2 separate regions of the Homo sapiens genome follow, and region 1 is linked to region 2. The links are contacts of gene promoters, found by promoter capture Hi-C in blood cells and fetal thymus (Javierre and others, 2016). All regions are on one chromosome and are shown on one strand. Each heading gives the region's core, a stretch centred on a gene start or on the middle of the fragment in contact. The rest is flanking DNA. Distances are from core to core; before and after follow the strand shown. Region 1 has its middle 93 kb from the start of MARCO. Region 2 holds the start of SCTR-AS1 (SCTR antisense RNA 1).

Evidence for each region. The method cuts DNA at HindIII sites, captures the fragments that hold promoters and counts their contacts. A CHiCAGO score of 5 or more calls a contact.
Region 1: a contact is called between a fragment that was not itself captured here and the fragment with the promoter of SCTR-AS1 in region 2, in 1 of 17 cell types (M2 macrophages). The highest score is 5.1, in M2 macrophages.

What each region holds. Positions count from the first base shown.
Region 1 is chr2:119,033,777-119,036,821 of GRCh38, reverse strand. No RefSeq gene overlaps it. Among named protein-coding and RNA genes, the nearest start is that of MARCO, 93 kb to the right of the region's middle. The HindIII fragment of the contact is 377 bases long and covers 1,576-1,952 here.
Region 2 is chr2:119,474,938-119,478,194 of GRCh38, reverse strand. SCTR-AS1 (SCTR antisense RNA 1) reads right to left here and starts at 1,741. Exons shown (of 2, transcript NR_147847.1): 1 at 1,237-1,741. The region is part of intron 3 of SCTR (secretin receptor); the gene reads left to right. RefSeq lists an enhancer at 2,874-3,257. The HindIII fragment of the contact is 1,181 bases long and covers 1,234-2,414 here.

The sequences.
Region 1 (3,045 bases), core at 515-3,014, 440 kb after region 2:
TCTTTGATATATTTATTTCATTTCTTTTGGATATATACCCGCAGTGGAATTTCTAGATCATATGGTAGTTCCGTTTTTAGGTTTTTGAGGAACATCCAAATAGTTTTCTATGGTTGCTGTACTAATTTATATTCCCATCAACAATATATAAGTGTTCTTTTTCCACATCCGCACCTACATCTGTTATTCCCTTTCTTTTGGATAAAAGCCATTTAAGTTGGGGTGAGATGATATTTCATTGTGATTTTGATTTACATTTATCTTATAATGTTGAAAAATGTTGAACATTTTTTCCATATACCTATTATTTGTATGCTTTTTTTGGTAAATATCTATTCAGATCTTTTTGTCTGTTTTTAAATCAAATTATTTGCTTATTTTTGCTGTTGAGTTGTTTGAGCTCCTTATGTATTCTGGTTATTAACCTCTTGTCATAATCTGTCACGGGAGGAGAGAAAAAAATCTCTTGTCACACAGCTAGTTTGCAAATATTTACTCTTATTTCTGTGGGTTGTGTCTTCATTACGATGATTGCTTCCTTTGCTATGCAGAAGTTTTTAACTTGATGTAATCCCATTTGTAGTCCATTTTATCTAAAAAGCGTAGGTATTCCTGCTCTTTTTCTGGTTTTCAACTGCCTGGAATATCTTATTTCACCCCTTCACCTTCAGCCTATATATGTCTTTATAGGTGAAGTAGGTTTCTTGTAGGCAGCACAGAGTTGGTTCTTGTTTCCTTACCCACTCAGCCACTCTATGCCTTTTAATTGAAAAATTGTGTCAATTTTCATTGATTCTTTTTTTTAATGAGTAAGGATTTACTACGCTAATGTTGTTGCTTGCTTTCTGGTTGTTTTGTAAGTCCTCTCTTCCTTTTTCCTTTCTTACTGTCTTTTTTTGTGATTAAGTGATTTTCTCTGGTAGGATGTTTTAATTCATTGCTTTTGTTTCTAGTGAATCTCTTATTGGTTTTTGCATCATTGTTACCATGAGGCTTACACAACACATCTTATAGATATAACAAGTTATTTTAAAGTGATGACAACTTATTTTAGATGACAATTAAAAGAATAGAAACAAAGAAACAATTTTAAAACTTGACACTTTAATTCCACCCCTGCCTACATTTTGACTTTGTGTTGTCTCTTAACAGGTTGCTATATCTATTATTATTTTTGACAGCTTTGTCTTTTAATCTTCATAGTAGGGCTGCTCTGCCTGTGGAGTAGATAACACCTTTTCATTCCTTTACTTTCTTGATAAACTGGCTTTCACTTAAAAAAAATCTTCATAGTAGAATTGTGAGTGAATTGCACACCACGATTGCAGTATTAGAGTATTCTAGGTTTGTCTGTGTACTTAATTTTACCAGTGAGTTTTATACTTTTACATGTTTTATTTTTGTATGTTAGTGTTTTTTTTTTTTTCTTCAGATTTTAGACTTCCTTTTGCAATCCTTGTAAGACACGTCTGGTGTCTGACAAGATTTTCTTTCAGATTGTAGACTTCCTTTTGCAATTCTTTTAATACAGGTCTGGTGGTGGTGAATTTTCTCAGCTTTTCATCTGGAAAAGCTTTATCTCTCCTTCATATTTGAAGGATAGCTTTGCTGGACACAGTATTCTTGGATGGCAGTTTTTCATTGTTTTGTTTTTTAGTTTCGCACTTTGAAAATGTCATCCCATTCCTGCCCTGTATGATTTCCATTGAGAAATCTGTTGCCAAATGAATTGGAGATCCTTCATACGTTATTGACTTATTTTCTCTTTGTACTTTTAAGATCTTCTCTTCATCCTTGACCTTTGAGAGTTTGATTATTATGTGACTTGTGTATTATTTGGTTTGAATCTGTTTGGTTTTCTCTGACTTTCATATAGCTGGATATTTCTCCCTTTCTCAAGTTTTGAAGTTTTCTGGTTTTTTTTTTTGTTTCTGTTTTGGTTTAAATAAGCTTTCTTCCCCTTGCTCTTGCTATACTCCATCTTGAACAACAGTAATTCTTAAATTTGTTCTTTTGAGGTAATTTTCTGTATCTTGTAGGTGACCTTCATTTTTTTATTCTTTTTTTTCTTTTTTCTACTCCAACTGTATTTTCAAATAGCCTATCTTTGAGTTCACTGGTTATTTCCTCTATTTTACCTATTCCACTATTGAGAGTCTCTAATGAATTTTTCAGTTTAGCAAAAGTCTTTATCAGTTCCAAGGGTTCTATTTGATTTTTTAAGTACTTTATTCTCCTTGTTAAATTTCTCTAATAAATTTCCAAATTGCCTTTCTGTGTTGTCTTGGAAATAATGAGTTACATTGAAGGATTATTTATTCTAGTCTTCCCTGTCTGGCTTATTCTGATTTTTCTCTTAGGTATGTTTGCTTAGAGATTCTTTGTGACTTATAATTTATCTGTTAATTTTCTTTTCTTTTTTTATTATACTTCAGGTTCTAGGGCACATGTGCACCACGTGCAGGTTTGATACATAGGTATACATGTGCCATGTTGGTTTGCTGCACCCATCAACTCATCATTTACATTAGGTATTTCTCCTAATGCTATCCCTCCCCCAACCCCCCACCCCCTGACAGGCCCCAGTGTGTGACGTTCCCCACCTTGTGTCCAACTGATCTCATTGTTCAATTCCCACCTATGAGTGAGAACATGCAGTGTTCGGTTTTCTGTCCTTGTGATAGTTTGCTGAGAATGATGGTTTCCAGCTTCATCCATGTCCCTGCAAAGGACATGAACTCATCATTTTTTATGGTGGCAGGGTATTCCATGGTGTTTATGTGCCACATTTTCTTAATCCAGTCTATCATTGATGTACATTTGTGTTGGTTCGAAGTCTTTGCTATTGTGAATAGTGCCGCAATAAACATACATGTGCATGTGTCTTTATAGTAGCATGATTTATAATCCTTTGGGTATAACCCCAGTAATGGGGTTGCTGGGTCAAATGGTAATTCTAGTTCTAGATCCTTGAGGAATCACCACACTGTCTTCCACAATGGTTGAACTAATTTAAACTCCCAGCAACAGTGTAAAAGTGTTCCT
Region 2 (3,257 bases), core at 492-2,991:
TTGATCCAGTAAAGAGTAATAATAACAGGGACTGAGAAAAGCTGTGCAGCTGCCCCTCTTTCCTGGTCCATGCAGGACAGCAAAGCTGCCAGATGAAGCCTGAACAAGAATAGGTGATTTAACACTAAAACCCACCAGCCTTTCAAAGTCAGGCAAGGCAAAGATGACCACGGTTCAGAGACTGTGGGAAGGGAGTGGAGATTCTTCTCACCATAATTCTGCTGTACATACGCACATGTGTGCACACACACACATATTTGGGGAACATGCTGCTCCCTCGAAGCCTCACTCAACACCCTACACTATGGGAACTGGGGGAAATGAGGTAGACAGGCTTGAAACCCGCTCCTCCAATTCCTGGCTTGGTAATGCTAGCTGCTGTAACAGACAATGCCCCACATCTCAAAGCCTTCATGCAAATTTGTCCACAGAAAGTCCAAAACAGGCTGGGTGCGGTGGCTCACACCTGTAATCCCAGTACTTTGGGAGGCCGAGGTGGGCGGATCTCCTGAGGTCGGGAGTTCGAGACCAGCCTGGCCAACATGGTGAAACCCCATCTCTTCTAAAAGTACAAAAATTAGCTAGGCGTGGTGGTGCACACCTGTAATCCCAGCTACTCAGGAGGCCGAGGCACGAGAATCACTTGAACCTGGGAGGCTGAGGTTGCAGTTAGCTGAGCTCGTGCCACTGCACCCCAGCCTGGGCGACAGAGTGAGACTCTGTCACAAACAAACAAACAAACAAACAAACAAACAAAAAACGTCCAGAACAGGAAACAGGTATTCCTGATTAGCAGGCAGCTCTCCTCTACACGGTGACCCCAGCACCCCACACCTCACAACCGTGGCATCACATAGTTTCCAGGCTGACTGGCGGAGAGGAAAGAACTCGGAGGACCACACAGCAGAGGTTCATAAGGGGCGGGCCTGGGAAGGATCCCACTCTGCCCACATTCCCTCGGCTAGAACTCAGTCACATGGCAACATCTAACTGCAAGGGACCTGGGGAAATGTCTTTTAGCTGGGTGCCAGTCAGCCCCGGGATCCAAGTTGCTCACTGCTGGGGAGCCTCAATTTTCTTGACTGTAAAATGGGGAAAATAAATAAGACCTGCCCTGTAAGGCTGTGCTTGGAAATAAATTTTGTCCCTTCTCCCCTACTCCTCTCCCTTCTTTTCCTTTTTCTCCTTCCCACCTTCCCTCCCCTACCCCTGCCACACACACCCCCGCAAGCTTACCAACTTTACCTGCCAGCGTGGCCCCTCCATGCTTGCCTCTGGGGTCCTGGGAGCTCAGGACACAGGAGATTAGTCCAGATGTGGCGGACCTAGAGCCCCAGGCTGGTCAGGTGCAAGGTCACGCCCAGACTCCACTTTCTGACTCCTGTGCAGTGCTCCTCCACAGCTGACCGGGTTTTTCTCCTGATGGAAAGGACTCGAAGCTCTTCTCCTTTGCAGCCGTCCCTTTTCAGCCTTCCCAGAGCCACAGCACCTCCGCCTCCCGCAGCACTGTCCCTTCTGCCCTGCAGAGGGGATAGGCGGAGCTGGTGCTCACGGCCACAAAGTGACCAGGTGCCAGTCCTGTCACATCCTTTCTCAATTAATTGCTTGAACCCCTCCCTGCCTCATTACGTAAAGGCTCAGTGTCTCCCTCTTGAGGCTCCCCTACCCTTGGATTGCTCATGGTCCGCGGCAGGAAGCTGGACCATGTCCACACAACGTGAGGATGGAAGCTGGGGTCCTGTGCCGACTCTGCTGCAGTTTCTTCTCGCCGCCACATGGTGTCGCTGTGGGCCTGCAGGGCCACACCAAAGGCCTGCCTATTGGGCTCTGGGCTCCCTCCAGGGTGGTGGGGGCCACGTTGTTCATACCCAGCCTGGGGGTGGGTGGCCCAAGAGCACAGGTCAACAGCTGTCTGGCCTCAATTTATCATCAAGAACTCCCACCCACCCCTCCTTCATCCCCATAGATCTACTTCTGGGTCTGATTAGACTCCTGCCCCTTCATCTCCCGGCAGGAAGGCAGGCTTCCCTAGGTGGTGCCCCCAACCCTAACCCCAGGGGGAGCGCCCAGTGAGGACAAGGTGCTCTGGAAAATAAATTAATTCTCCTTGAGGGCACCTACTACATGGGTCCTGACAGGAGGGGTGGGGTCCATGTGACTGGAGAAACCGCAGGCCGATTCTGCCCCCAGATGTTTCTGTTCATGCCAGGCCTAGAATGCTCCCTCTAGGGTGTATTCCTTTGATTCTGAAAAGGACGCTGGTCTTCCAGAGTTCCTTATTAAAAAACACAATTCCCCAGCGGCATCCCCTTGGCCCTCTTTCTCTTCCTACTTAGTGAGGATCTGGCCTTAAAGCGGTCATGCTTCCCAACCTGATTAGGGTCCCGGAGCCTTCTGAAAATCAGATGAAAGCTTTGGACTAGTCTTTCCCCGAACTGCATAAATATATATCTATATATCTATATATTTATATATATGCACATAATATATATATTTATTTTATATTTATAATATAATACAAATATAAATATAAATATCTATTTATATTATATATATAATATAAATATCTACATCTATATATATATATATATGCACAAACATCCTTTCAGGGGTCCCCTGAGGTGCACACTGGCCTGTGCCTGGTTAAGTTTCCCTTACCTATTAGGAATTCAGCCCTGGGGAAGTGGGGAGGCAGCTGCTTTGCAGCTCTACAGAGTGGAAGGCAGGGGGCCCTGCCTTGTTAGCAGCTCTGGGCACCTGGCCTGGGTCACATGCAGCATCTGTCTTGGGAGTCCTGCTGTGTCAGTGAGGAGAGGGCCCCAAACGGGCAGGCCTGCTGCCCTGGGCGAGCCCACAGGGAGCCCAGCCTCTAGGCACGCGCTGTCTTATAACCTTCGATTCTGGCCTTGGGGGAATTTGTGTTCCCTTAACTTGCTTTCCCATCCACCCAGCCTAAATTTGACCACCGTTGTTTCCCATCTGACAACCTAACTCTCTTGATTCAGTTCCAGAAACCTCCCCACCCCTCGCCTAAATTCCAAGATTCCAAGCCCCTCCCACTTCTGCCTATTTTAGAAAGGCCAAAAAGAGAGGGGAGTGATGCCTCGGTGCCCGCTCTGTGCCTGGCACCAGCCTAGGCATTTTCCGTGTGCTCTCATGTTCCCTGCTCACTCTTGCAGTGTGGGTGATTATTTTGTGGCACAGAGAAATGATGCACCGAAGGTCACACAGTGACCAAGAGGCTGCACTGGGTTTCA